Linked DNA regions of Homo sapiens: region 1 is linked to region 2. Evidence: promoter capture Hi-C in human tissues and cell types (Jung and others, 2019). All regions are on one chromosome and are shown on one strand. The core of a region is centred on a gene start or on the middle of the fragment in contact, and the rest is flanking DNA. Distances in the headings are between cores, read along the strand shown.

Region 1 (7,183 bases), core at 2,612-5,111, 130 kb after region 2:
ATCTCATTTGAGTTGCAATTTCAAAAAGCAAAGCCTTGCTCTTTTCTGACTGAATTCAACATGCATAAAGAATTTTATGGCTTGGATCCTATGGCTCAAAAAGGTTTGAAAACATAGCAAGCAGCATCTATTTAAAAAAATCCTAGGGTTGCAAAATATTACAAATTGACTTTGCACACTCAGACTGAAGACATTATAAAAGACAAACAAAAAAGGTGATACAACTCAACTGCAACTGCATGATCATCTATTATACCAGTATGCACTGAAATATATTTTTATAAAGCTCTGCAGATATTAAACCCTTTCACCAGCTAAAGTCATGGAAATGCTCTCTTTAAGGCAGGAAATATTTAAGAAAGGTAAAGTTACCTTTATTTTTATTCTTTTAACCTGTAAATCATTTATGTAGATTTTGTTACAATTTCAAAAACATAGTGTCCTGTTAACATGTTTCCTAAATTAAGCCACTAAGTTTTCTTTACTGTGGAAGACATTCATCAAAAGGCCATCAAATATTTTTACAATCAAAAAATGTAGCCCAAGTATAGGAGAAAAAAAAATAGACCTTTTTTTCTTTTTAAAACTGTTGAGGAAAAAAATATAAGGAAGGTAGACAGCAGAAACAGTAGAAAGAAGTAAAACTGAAAATCTTACCAATTTGCTGTAAAGAGATTAGACAGAGAGTGGGCCACAGCAACACCCTCTTCCCCTGGATATCCCTATCTCCCTCACCTTGCCGACCACAGTATGTATTTTTTATCCTGACTCTCTTCTGTTGTTCTTCAGCCATGGGCTGAAGACATTTGGTGTCTTGAACCAAATACTGGTGTAAGAACAGGTGGCGATTTTTTTTTCCAGTGCAATGCAGGCCCGGGACAATGATGAAATGTAGGACATACAACTTATGCCCATTCCAAGGCTTCCAGTTAAGCTTAGCACATAGCAGTACTGCAAGTAGAAATGATTAAATAGATTCATTTTTTTTTTCTCATATTACAGACAGGTATTGCAGCTGGGTTACTGAAAATAAACCCCAGGTCCACCCCAATCCCTCAAACGAGCCACAGCTGTGGTTAACAATGATTCATTTGCATTTTATTATTTCACCAAGAGAAGAAACAGAAGTTGTCTGGCTTTCTTCACACCAACCAATAATTTCGCATTTTAAAGTTTGGGATGTTTTTCATAATGAGCTGAATCAAAAATCTATTTGAAAAATATATATTTATATAAAAAAAAGATTCAGGTTGTTTGCACGTAAAACATCAATTGGTAAGTTTCTTTTGTCTTTGCTTCCATTTTGCTGGAAAAAGTTTGACCAAGCTTGCATGCTAATTTGTCCTTAGTTGCAAGTATTATAGGCAATTTTGTACTTTGCCTAATGAAAGGATAACCCTTCTTCAACACAATCAGAACTCAACAGTGATTCAGAAGCAACATCCTACCCTTAATACTGTCAGTTTCGAGTCATCAACATGAAAATCCTTGATAAGGTTGAGAAGATGTCGCGAGGAATCAATTAATTGATGTGCCTAAGAGTTCAGCAATACTATTTTGCTTTAAGTTTTTTTTTGCACCATTGATTGATTTTTTAAAATCCACGTTTATTTTTCCTGTGTCTGAAGTGTTCTATGTAATGACATTGACTCTCTGAAACTGTCATTTTGAGTCGTTTCACCTTGCAGGATGCTCACACATCTCCCTCTCCACCTTTTTTGCCTTAAATTCATTAAAAGCATTGCTCTGTCATAGATTCATACGCAGGTGCTCTGGCCGTTTGGAGATCATGGGAAAAGCTTGTTTTTTGTATGGCCCAGAGTTCGGCTGTCGTATTGGAAGTGGTGCCGATGCTTCCCCACTCATTGTCACATCCATCTGCTCTATGCCACTTGTTTCCATTGGGTATTCCACAGGTGTCTGAGGATTTGCTGTGCTGGCCGAAGCACCTCTTCCCCAGAAATCCCCAGGAGAAAATTTGACTGGGCTTTAAGACAAGGAAGAGCTATCATTCATTTGCTTAAGGGTCATCTCAACAAGACATATTTCCTTTACGTTTAAAGGGAGTGGGGTAACATGACATTTATTTTCATTTAATTTTATTTTCACGTGGATTAGCACAAAGGCAAAAATTGAACCATCTCTCCCCCACCTAGATTAACTGCTAGAATTTCCTAACTGGTCTCTTTACCTCTACACCTGACCCCCAAAACCCTCAATGAGATATATATACATTTAAATGCGTATTATATATATCATTTTACTCTCCCCTGCTCAAAACAGCTTTCTATTGCATTTAAAATAAAATACTTTTCCAAACCTCTGCCCTTCTCCTCACTCACCACACACTCCAGGAACACTGATTTCCCTTTCACTTCCAGGAAAAGGGCAACTTTTCTCCTCCCTCAGGGTTTTTGCATTTGCTGTTCTTCTGCCTGCAACATTCTTATACCTCCTATTTTTGTAGGGCTGGCTCTTTCCGTTCACTGCTAGATGTTACTACACCAGGGAGGCCTTTCTCTGATCACTGTGAGTAGAAGCCCCCTTGTTTTTCCTCTGCTCTCTACCAGTACATTCTTTTTTTCCCCTTTTAAATTATAGCACTTTGCACTACTTGTAATTATATTTTTGTATATCCTTTGTCTATTGTGACTTTCCCACTAAATTGTAAGCTTCATCAGGACAGGGACAATTCCTGTATTATAGTACTATATAGATACACACACATAACATGCAGTATGTAGTGCTGGTGCTCTTGGTGCACAATAAATGCTGAGTGAATGGATAAAGAGGACATTTGCCAGTATGGCTGCTTACTTTTGGGAGGGAAGGTAAACCATATAACATCATAGATTAGTCAGACTAGTCCTTTGCAATGTAAGATATAGATGCTGTGCTTATGTCAACCAAAGAGAGTATGACAGTCTTTCATTTATATAACTTGGCATAAACTTCTTAAGCAAACACTCTTGTAGGTTGTTTAAAAACAAAAAAAAGTGAAAATAAGAGTGTGAAATACCTGACAGGTGTTCGTGGGCTGCCAATAAATCTTCGAGGTGATCGGATTTTTGGTTCAAAGGAAAACTTTTCTTTCACACTTTCAAGTACAGATGGAGCCACATATGTAAAACCCTGAAAGACAGTAACAGTGGACTACAGAATGGCATTTTGTCATGTATCTCAAGAGAATGGGGTTGTTCAGTCTGACATACCTACACAATGATGCACACCTAAAACCACCAATGTGTACACTCTCCCACGTCCTCAACCTCATTTTTAGACCCGTTAACTTCTTTCCAGCCATTTCGTGAGGCACACACTTCAAGAAAGCAGAATTCCATTGAGCCTGATATGCTAGCAAACAAAATTCTACCCTACTGACAGGAATAGAAAAAAAAACAGGAAAATTCAGGCTCCATATGAAGATGTTAAATACGCCCAGGCACGGGGGCTCACGCCTGTCATCCCAGCACTTTGGGAGGCCAAGGCGGGCAGACCACCTGAGGTCAGGAGTTAAAGACCAGCCTGGCCAATGTGGTGAAACACCGTCTCTACTAAAAATACAAAAATACACCACCATGCATGGTGGTGCACGCCTGTAATCCCAGCTACTCGGGAGGCTGAGGCAGGAGGATCACTTGAACCTGGTAGGTGGAGGTTGCAGTGAGCAGAGATCGCACCACTGCATTCTAGCCTGGGCAACAGAGTAAGACTCCATCTCAAAAATTAAAAAAAAAAAAAAAAAAGATGTTAAATACTAGGAGAAATGTAAAGAAACTTCTAGTGTTTCTAGCCACAGGCATATAAGCAATTAAGTTTATCACCCTAAAACAGTTTCTTATAATCAGACCAAAGTAAAAACAATTTTCTGACTTGGCATCAAAGTCAGATCTTGTGATCTTTCTGGTTTTACGCCAATGATTGGACAGAATTCGTTTTTTGTTTTGTTTTAAGAGATGGGGTATCCCTATATTGCCCAGGCTGGAGTGCAGTGGTGATAACATAGCTCACTGCAGCCTCAAACTCCTGGACCCAAGCTATTCTCCCACCTCAGCCCCTCAAGTAGCTGTGACTATATAGGCACGTGTGATCTCTGCCCAGCTAGAATTTGGTGTTTTCTTGATGAATAAGTATCAACATTTCAAAAACCTTCAGTTGTAATAGGCAAAAATGCAGTTTTGTTCATTTTAGTTCTCTCTTGGATCTTACTATTAGGCTACCAGCTGTCATTTCTCTAGCTGTCAATGTTCATTCTTTTAACCATCTTCACCTATCTTCTATTTATCAAAATCTATGAGTAAGCATTATGTGTTACAATAAATAAGACTCAGCAAAGCTCTGAGTGAAGTCCCAAAGAGTGAGGTGCAATTCTGAAGTGCATATGATTTGTGACAGTTATATGTGAACTTCAGAGAATAATTTTACAAACGTTCTGGTGGACTAAAGCTGTAACTACCAAGAGGTACAGGCTGTGCCTTAATCATCTTTGAATTTCCTCTAATTCTGTGATGGGGTCTTACAACAGGAATTAAAATATTTGTTGAAATGAGGTTGCTAGAACCACATTATCCAGATAAGTGGGATGTCACTATATGTGTGTGTGTATGTATGTGTGTATATATATATATGTGTATATATATATATATAATTTTTTTTTTTTTTTTGAGATGGATTCTAGCTCTGTCGCCCAGGCTGGAGTGCAGTGAGGGGCGTGATCTCAGCTCATTACAACCTCCTCCTCCCGGGTTCAAGCGATTCTCCTGCCTCAGCCTCCCGAGTAGCTGGGACTACAGCCATCATGCCTGGCTAATTTTTGTATTTTTAGTAGAGATGGGTTTTCACCATATTAGCCAGGCTGGTCTGGAACTCCTGACCTTGTGATCCGCCCACCTCAGACTCCCAAAGTGCTGGGATTACAGGCGTGAGCCACTGCACCTGACCTATTTTTTTTTATTAATGTTTAAAGAGATCCACTTTATGTAGAGAATTCTGGCTACAACCTAACAAATGAGTTGCTCTATTCATTAGCCAATTTAAGTAATTGTGAAAAGCTCAACAATACTTTAACTGGCAACGAAAGCTTCAATATCTCACTTTTACCACCACAACTTTGGATTTCTTGGCAGCTAAATAAAATGCTTCTATTTTGTGGGGGGAAAACTGTCACATAAGTTGAAATTCTGCAATGTCCAATTGAGGAAAAGGTCTCTATGTTAAATCAAAGGTATAAATTCCACATCTGTAGTACATGAGAGAAAAAAAATGCCAAAATTAAAGTGATTCATGCCCACTTCCCTAACTGAACCTAAGATTTTACTAACAGAGATGCCGTAACTTTGATCATGCACACATCAAACTTGAATTTAAAAACATGCATGCACTCACTCATCTTTTATCTCTTATGTAATACTGTAAGACTATATTTTGCCTATGTGCTCTATATTAATTTATAGGATTATTACTATTCAGTGTTGTTTACTCAAAACCATACTGTACTATACACAACTTTTGCATCCCATACTAACTTAATTTTTTTAATTAATTTTTTTTTTTTTGATACGGAGTCTCACTCACTCTATCGCTCAGGCTGGAGTGCAGTGGCACAATCTTGGCTCCTGCAACCTCTGCCTCCCGGGTTCAAGTGATTCTCCTGCCTCAGCCTCCCAAGTAGTTGGTACCACAGGTGCATGCCACCACACCTGGCTAATTTTTGTACTTTTAGTAGAGATGGGGTTTCACCATGTTAGCCAGGCTGGTCTTGAACTCCTGACCTCAAGGTTATAGCCATAAGCCACCATGCCCCAACTCCATGCTAACTTTAGAGCTTATTTCCCATCCCATAAGATACAACACTACTTGTATTACATAGTGAGCAATGTGGGGAAGAAAAGCTTAAGAATTAAGTTAGTGACAAATCCAGTGAACTCAAAAACAGGGAAAAAACACTCCCAAACAATTATTTTCCCCATATTCTATTCTCCCTAGAGTAGTCCAAAAACAAATGACAAAAGAAAAAAAAAGGATACAAAATGAGATAGATGTTCATGTGACATATTAAGTACAGTAATAAAATCAACAAGCATATGTGCTATTTGAGCAAAATAGTATGCATTCATGGTCTTCTGATATAAATCCATCATTTCTGTTGGCCAACATCAAAAACCTTTACTTTTCTGAGGAGACAAGCTATAAATCTATACAGACATTTCTACAATGAGAATTCACTATTACATATGAACCAATATGTTTTGATGTCAAATATTCACAATTAATGTTAAAAAAATCCCCTACTTGGCCTGGCACGGTGGCTCATGCCTGTATTCCCAACACTTTGGGAGGCCAAGGCGGGTGGATCACGAGGTCAAGAAATCGAGACCATCGACTGGGCGTGGTGGCTTACGCCTGTAATCCCAGCACTTTGGGAGGCCAAGGCGGGCGGATCATGAGGTCAGGAGATCAAAACTATCCTGGCTAACACGATGAAACCCCGTCTCTACTACAAATACAAAAAATTAGCCTGGCGTGGTGGCGGGCACCTGTAGTCCCAGCTACTCAGGAGGCTGAGGCAGGAGGATGGTGTGAACCCGGGAGGTGGAGCTTGCAGTGAGCTGAGATTGCGCCACTGCACTCCAACCTGGGCGACAGAGCGAGACTCCTTCTCAAAAAAAAAAAAAAAAAGAAATCGAGACCATCCTGGCCAACATGGTGAAACCCTGTCTCTACTAAAAATACAAAAATTAACTGGGCGTGGTGGCGCACGCCTATAGTCCCAGCTACTCGGGAGGCTGAGGCAGGAGAATCACTCGAACCCAGGAGGCAGAAGTTGCAGTGAGCTGAGATCGCGCCACTGCACTCCAACCTGGTGACAGAGCAAGACTCCGTCTCAAAAAAAAAAAAAAAAATCCCCTACTTATGTTAAGAGTACCAAAAATAGGGCCAGGAACGATGGCTCATGCCTATAATTTTGGCACTTTGGGAAGCCAAGGCAGGAAGATAGCTTGAGTCCAGGAGTAAAATAGTGAGACTCTGTCTCTACAAAAAAATAAAAAATTAGCTGCATGTGGCACACACCTGTGGTACAGGTACTCACAAGGCTGAAATGGGTGGATCACTTGAGCCTGGGAGGTCAAGGCTGCAGTGAACTGTGATCACACCACTACACTACACCCAGCCTAGGCTACAA
Region 2 (6,686 bases), core at 3,723-6,222:
TGGCTGGCTCTTTGCAGGTGTGATTGATTTCCCAAATTGGGAACTGTTGCCTCTTGATTGTATTCTGTGGATCCAGGTCCCCAAAACAGCAGGTCTCGGGCAAAATTTTTTTTGTCTTTTTCTCAGATGAAGAGTTATCTTAAGGATCATCTTTCCCTAAGATCGTCATCCCTTCCTGGAGTTCCTATCTTCCAAGATGTGACTGTCTGGAGTTCCTTGACTAGGAAGATGGATGAAAACAGCAAGCCTGTGGATGGAGACTACAGGGGATATGGGAGGCAGGGAAGAGGGGTTGTTTCTTTTAATAAATCATCATTGTTAAAAGCACTCATACTATTTGAGTTATTTGGTTAAAGGTGAGGAGGAGGGGGAGGAGGACAGATGACATTTGTTGCGTACTGACTATCAACAAGGACCATGTTAAATTCTCCCCAGGCATTATCTAAGTAACCTTAACAACCTTTTGACTGCACTTCTTATCATTACCATTTGAGGACACTGAGGTTTGGGGCAGAGTCATATAGCAGGTAAGTGTCAGGGCCTAAACTATAATCTCATGTCGAACGCCATATAAGTCCTATGCATTATAGCATGGTGGTCAGGAGCCCTGACTCTGAATTTCAAACCCAGGCACACCACACAGCCATGTGGCCTTCAGTGAGAGTCTTCATCTTTCTGTGATTCGACTCATATATATAATAGTACCTCATGAAACTACAAAGATTAAAGAGGGTCACATAAAGTGCTGACACATAGAAAGCATTCAGTAAGTGTTAACTACAATGATTATTAACACAGTAGTACCCCTAATCCACGGGGGATATGTTTCAAGACCCCCAGTGAATGCACAAAACCGTGGATCGTATCAAACTCTACATATACTGCCGTGGATAGTATCAAACTCTCTATATATGTGTTCTGTCCTATAAATACATCCTTATGATAAAGTAAATTTATAAATTAGGCACAGTAAGAGATTAACAATAACTAATAATAAAATAGAACAAATATAACAATATGCCAGCATCACTACTCTTATGCTTTGAGACCACTAAGCAAAATAAAGGTTACTTGAACACAAGCACTGGGACAGTGGATCTCATAACTGAGATGGTTATTAAGTGACTAACGGGTGGGTAGCATATAAAGCGTGGATATGCTTGACTAAGGGATGATTCACATTCCAGGCAGAATGAAGTGGGATGGCGCAAGATTTCATCACGCTACTCAGAACAGCAGCAAGTTGAAATGTATGAATTGTTTATTTCTGGAAATTTCCATTTCGTTTTTTTTTTCTTTTTTTTTTGGACGGAGTTTTACTTTGGTCACCCAGGCTGGAGTGCAATGGTGTGATCTCGGCTCACTGCAATCTCTGCCTCCCAGGTTCAAGTGATTCTCCTGCCTCAGCCTCCCAAGTAGCTGGGATTACAGGCGTGTGCCAACACGTCCGGCTAATTTTTGTATTTTTAGTAGAGATGGAGTTTCACCATGTTGGTCAGCTGGTGTCGAGTTCCTGACCTCCAGTGAGCAGCCCGTCTCGGACTCCCAAAGTGCTGGGATTACAGGCATGAGACACTGCGCCCAGCGCATTTCATATTTTCATACTGTGATTGACCACGGGTAATTGAAAAGGCTGAAAGTGAAACTACTGATAAGGGGGGACTCCTATGTAATCACATAGATAGGCTGATGACCCTGAAACAGAACTCAAGGCCAATCCTCCTTCCTAGCCTCTCCTGGTTCAAAGTGTAATCTGGATACCGAAATCAAGCTCCTGTCTTCTGGTTTTCCCCATTACAAAATGTGGGAGGTAAAAAACAATGGGTTTATAATTTCTTGTCTATGTTCTTCACAATCACAGCCAGCCTGGGCTGCAATCTGATTTCAACCAATTTGCTGCCTGTGCAGCCTTGACCAACCATTTATACTCTTCGGCACCATTTTCCCAACTATAAAAGGGGGAAATAATATCTACCTCATTTGATACTAAGACTTATAAAACTTTATAGTTTACAAAGCATTTTCACAAAAATCCCATTCGATTTTCACATCAACCGGTGGCAAATAGGGGACCCTGAATAAAAAATTAGTGAATTCATTCATTCTGTTAACAAATATTGTGGGGCATCTACCACATCCCAGGGGCTGTGCTAGCCCTGGGATACAACAGCGAATGAGACAAACGGGAACTGTGCCTTCATAAAGTTAATATTCTAGAGGGGAAAACAGATGATAAAGTCATCAAATAAACAAGATAACTGCAGGTTATGGTAAATTTTCCGAAGGAAATAATCAAAGATGTGAATTAGAGTGAAGTGGGGGTATGCAAGCCTACGTGAGTTAGGATGACCCAGACGCTCATGAAGGGATAAAAGTGAAGTCTTGAGAGGTTTCCACACATGAAAGGAGTGAAATTCCACTGAGGTTCCAGATCATCCGATGCAGAATCTAACAAAGGAAATGGCTGTGAACGTGCTTAGCACCCCTTAAAGCCCCTCAGTCACTGCAGGACTATGAAAATGCAGAGAATTGAGGAGGAGACAGAAGATTTTCTTGGAAGAGAGCTTTTGCCATGCTGTGTTTCCACAGTTTCAGGGTGGGAGGTGGGAGCAGGAGTGCTACTGTCTAAACTCAAGCCAATGCAGGGTGCCTTCAAAGGCCTCCCTCAGAGCTTGAGATACGTTTCCTTCAGTTGGTGATCACTGCAGAGTAGGGATGTCCATTTCCTTAAAGGAACCACACTGATCCAAAACAGTATATTCTACCAGAACTGAACAGACCGGCATCAGTATACTGTATTTTACAATTCCTGGGCCATTCCACCCTGAATAACACAATATGTAGGTCATCCATATTGCAACTTAAAGTGAACCACACCAAACCCAGATCCTTTCCAGTCTCTTCGAACGTGCATTGTGGAAATGACCAGGCCTCACATCCTTCTAGCCCAATGTGTAAGACAGCTCTTTAGTACTACTTCACATACTCTTGGTCTTACATTCTTACTCTAGCCATTGCTACAGCAACTAGTTTATCACAGGCATCTACTAGCTTAGCACAGGTATAACTGGTGAGAGCCTTGCCTCAGATATGCACCTAGTTTCCTCACTTTTGCCTCAGGGCTTCTTTGACTATGCAACATAGGACTCCTCCAGGAACCAAGCACAGATGCATGCTCAACACAGGAACACCAGTGAATTAATGCCTTGTGGTCAACTTTTGACAATAGACTTCAAAAGCTGACAGATAAATGCTTTTCCTCTCTGTTCCTCAGAAGAAGGGTTTTGAGAGCTTCACAAGGCTTCTCAGAAACTCCTGAGGACTGAACAATCAGTCACCCCTTGCAATGGCCAACTCAATAGCACATATTGGTATTAATTCTCCTTCCTTCCCTGTTCATTTCTGGATAAATCCCTCACCTATCAACCTCATCTGAGGCTCTGCTATCAGGGAACCCAGATTAAAATATCCAACGACTAGGTTTCAGCTCCTGATCTTCTCTGAACAAATGCTTGAATACATTTCTTTACACGAATACACACACACACATGCACATATATAACGCACATATGTACACAGACTAGGAATAAGAAATAATATACCAGCACAACGGAATCTAAATCCAAACAAAAAAATTAACATTTCTCCCCAAGCCCAAAGTCTTCAGAAAACTACCTCTGCTAAAGCATACCCCCAATTTTCACTGCTGAACAGAAATGTTTTGTTCTCAGGATAAAACATACATTCAGGTGACTTCAAGGTTTTCCCTAAGGGCCAAGGGTGAGGATTTGCTTTATATTTGCATAACTCAAAGGCCCTAGAGATGGTTTTCCCAATCTGCCCAACTGTGAAAGTCAAGCCTTCACTTCCTGGATGACTGAAAAGTGATCACAGATTTTTAAATGGCCATTTTATTCTCCAGCTTCTTGACTTCAAGGTTTCAGAAAATCTTGGGGTGTCTCATTTCAACCCGGTCACTCTTAGGCAGATTATATTTTACATGATTCAGTTAAACTCCAAAATTACTCTTCTAGTGGGGCGAGGTGCCTCATGATCCATGAGAGGATTCACACTGGGAAAAAGGGAGAAAAAGGAACCAAGAGTACAGCCAGCTGTCACTTAAGTAGGGAAAGCTGCCTTATATTCCACTGACCAGATTGCAATCACAGAGCCACAGCCAACTGCAAGGAATGCTAGGGAACGTAGCCTTTATTCCGGGTGGTTTTGTGCCTGGGGAAAGATTTTAGAAGAGTAGAAGGGTGCCTTAGAACTAGCGGTTTCTGCTACTGCCATCCACAGCATACCCTCTCCAACTCCAGCCCGAATCTGAAACTCTAGTACGGAACAGAGTACCTTCAGCCCTGTCCAGGAACAAACTCTGGGAGGACAAACTTTCTGGAAGCACAAATTGAGAACTCACTTTTCAGTCAGGGCTCAAGAAGGAGTGGCCGGCGAAAAATCTCCAAGCCAATTTCTTTCTTTTTTTTTTTTTCTGAGACGGAGTCTCGCTCTGTCGCCCAGGCTGGAGTGCAGTGGCGCGATCTTGGCTCATTGCAAGCCCTGCCTCCCGGGTTCACGCCATTCTCCTGCCTCAGCCTCCCGAGTAGCTGGGACAACAGGCGCCCGCCACCACTCCCGGCTAATTTTTTTTTTTTTTTTTTTTTTGTATTTTTAGTAGAGACGGGGTTTCACCGTGTTAGCTAGGATGGTCTCGATCTTCTGACCTCGTGATCCGCCCGCCTCGGCCTCCCAAAGTGCTGGGATTACAGGCGTCAGCCACCGAGCCCGGCCTCCAAGCCAATTTCTGACAAGCATCTGCAGGGTACCGGTCGGAGGAGTCCCGTAGTCATGGAAACCCCTCTGAGCCCCAGTCCGGTCTAAAAAAGGTACTTTCGGAACTAGAGCGCGCGGAACGGGAGGATGTCCCGGAAGTATTTCCCTGGGATCACCCCACCCACCCCCCCCGCCCGTAGAAAAGATGGCTGCTGTGCAAGTTGTCGGTTCGTGGCCTTCCGTGCAGCCGCGGGAGGCACCGCGGGAAGCAATCCCTGAGCGAGGCAATGGGTTTCGCCTCTTGTCTGCCAGGCTCTGCGCCCTGCGCCCGGATGACAGCAGCTCCGCCCGCACCGAGATCCACCTGCTCTTCGATCAGCTCATCTCCGAGAACTACAGCGAGGGCAGTGGCGTGGCCCCGGAGGTAGGCGGCGCGCCCTGCTGGCCCCGGCCCCGGCCCCACCCCTCCGGGAACCCAGCTGGTGGCCTCTGCCTGCCTTTCCCTGATCTTCCCACTCTCGCGCCTGATGATTTAGTTTCAGGATGGCGTGCCCCCTCCAACCTTGGCACATTCTTAGTTCTCCATTTGGAAGACCCTGCAGTGCTTGGCACGCTCGAGTCATTCAAAACCCAACTTGACGACTCCTGCTCTGATAATGCCTCGGGTTTCCTCTCTGATACCAACTTTCCATCCGCCCGCACCCTCCTTCACTCCCTCTCTGTGCACCCAGAACACTTGGTTGACAAAATGCATTACTACTGTTTATTGCGTACATGGTACACGGACCACGTGGGAATCTTAGAACTTGCGTAGTATTAGGGCTTGTTTGCTAATGAAAATACTGAAGCTCGTAAAAATACAGTATACAAAACTCTGCCACAAAGCCCCTATGTTTTCTGTTCCTACACACTAGCTCCTCCCCTCTGCCGTCTTTCTGAGTAATCTTACACACATCAGGCCTTAAATTAATGAATTCTCTGAACTGTTGACACCATGGCCTTCTGGCCCTACGTAGGAAAGAGGGAAGTGGTGCAAGTTGCCTGCTTGCACAGGCATCTCAAACTAGACAGTTCCTAAAGATGAAATTCATTAGCTCCAAACACGCATTCCCGTCCCCAGTCCATCCCACCTTCCAACACACATGCATCATCCACCAAGTCACACCAGACACAAACACTGGTTCTTCCCTCCTTCATCCCAGATCCTGACCAACTCAGGTATTTCAGAATGTGTCTCATATATATTTCTCAGTTCATCCCCTCCTGTCTATTCCCATAGCGAGTGCCTTAGACCTCAGGCAAGGCGACTTATGCCTGGACTGTTCGCTGATCCCCTCTGACTGATCTCCTGCCTCCTGTCTAGCTCCTCTCCAAGCCAGTCATTCCTCCAATGCCAGAATGATCTTTTCTTTAGGAGGAAAAAAAATTGTTCATAAACTTTAAAATCTGCTTTGGAAAAGTCTTCAATACGTATTGGTAAATGGTTGAAGCAAGTTGCAGGACAATTCATACAGAATGAGATCAGTATGAAGCTGGAGGAGGGATTTTAAAATATGTGTGTTTATATATGCAAAGTAAAAGGTCTGAAAGAATTGACTACAGAATAATAGTGTATGTCATTAGGAAGCAGAGTGAGATTAAGGCAGTAGTCGGGGACTTTTGCTGTATTTGTGTAATTGGATACTTTTGCAACAAAACTTCCATTCTCTCCTGTTACTCCCCCTTTTGTTCCTGTGTGCAGCCATTTAAAACTTGCTGTTCTTCAGGCACCTACTAGTGTTTCACACCTCCAGGTTTTTGCATACTCTGTCCACTTTGCTTGCAGTGTTTTTTGATGCCCTATCTGGCAAATTTCTCCTCATCCTTCAAATCATTCCAGATTCTGCTTTACAGTCACCTCCACAAGGCCTCCC

The links. The method cuts DNA at HindIII sites, captures the fragments that hold promoters and counts their contacts. A contact is called where the count stands out against the background at its distance.
Region 1: a contact is called between a fragment that was not itself captured here and the fragment with the promoter of HEATR6 in region 2, in 2 of the 25 tissues and cell types used here (H1 embryonic stem cells and dorsolateral prefrontal cortex).

The regions. Positions count from the first base shown.
Region 1 is chr17:59,941,355-59,948,537 of GRCh38, reverse strand. RPS6KB1 (ribosomal protein S6 kinase B1) reads right to left here. Exons shown (of 15, transcript NM_003161.4): 14 at 3,020-3,132; 15 at 1-1,987. The coding sequence ends at 1,750. Among named protein-coding and RNA genes, the nearest start is that of RNFT1, 20 kb to the left of the region's middle. The HindIII fragment of the contact is 3,250 bases long and covers 2,237-5,486 here.
Region 2 is chr17:60,077,207-60,083,892 of GRCh38, reverse strand. It overlaps HEATR6 (HEAT repeat containing 6), which reads left to right and starts at 4,972. Exons shown (of 20, transcript NM_022070.5): 1 at 4,972-5,197. The coding sequence starts at 4,979. It overlaps HEATR6-DT (HEATR6 divergent transcript), which reads right to left and starts at 4,584. Exons shown (of 2, transcript NR_135648.1): 1 at 4,421-4,584. It also overlaps the pseudogene WFDC21P. RefSeq lists a silencer at 5,186-5,315. The HindIII fragment of the contact is 14,340 bases long and covers 1-6,686 here.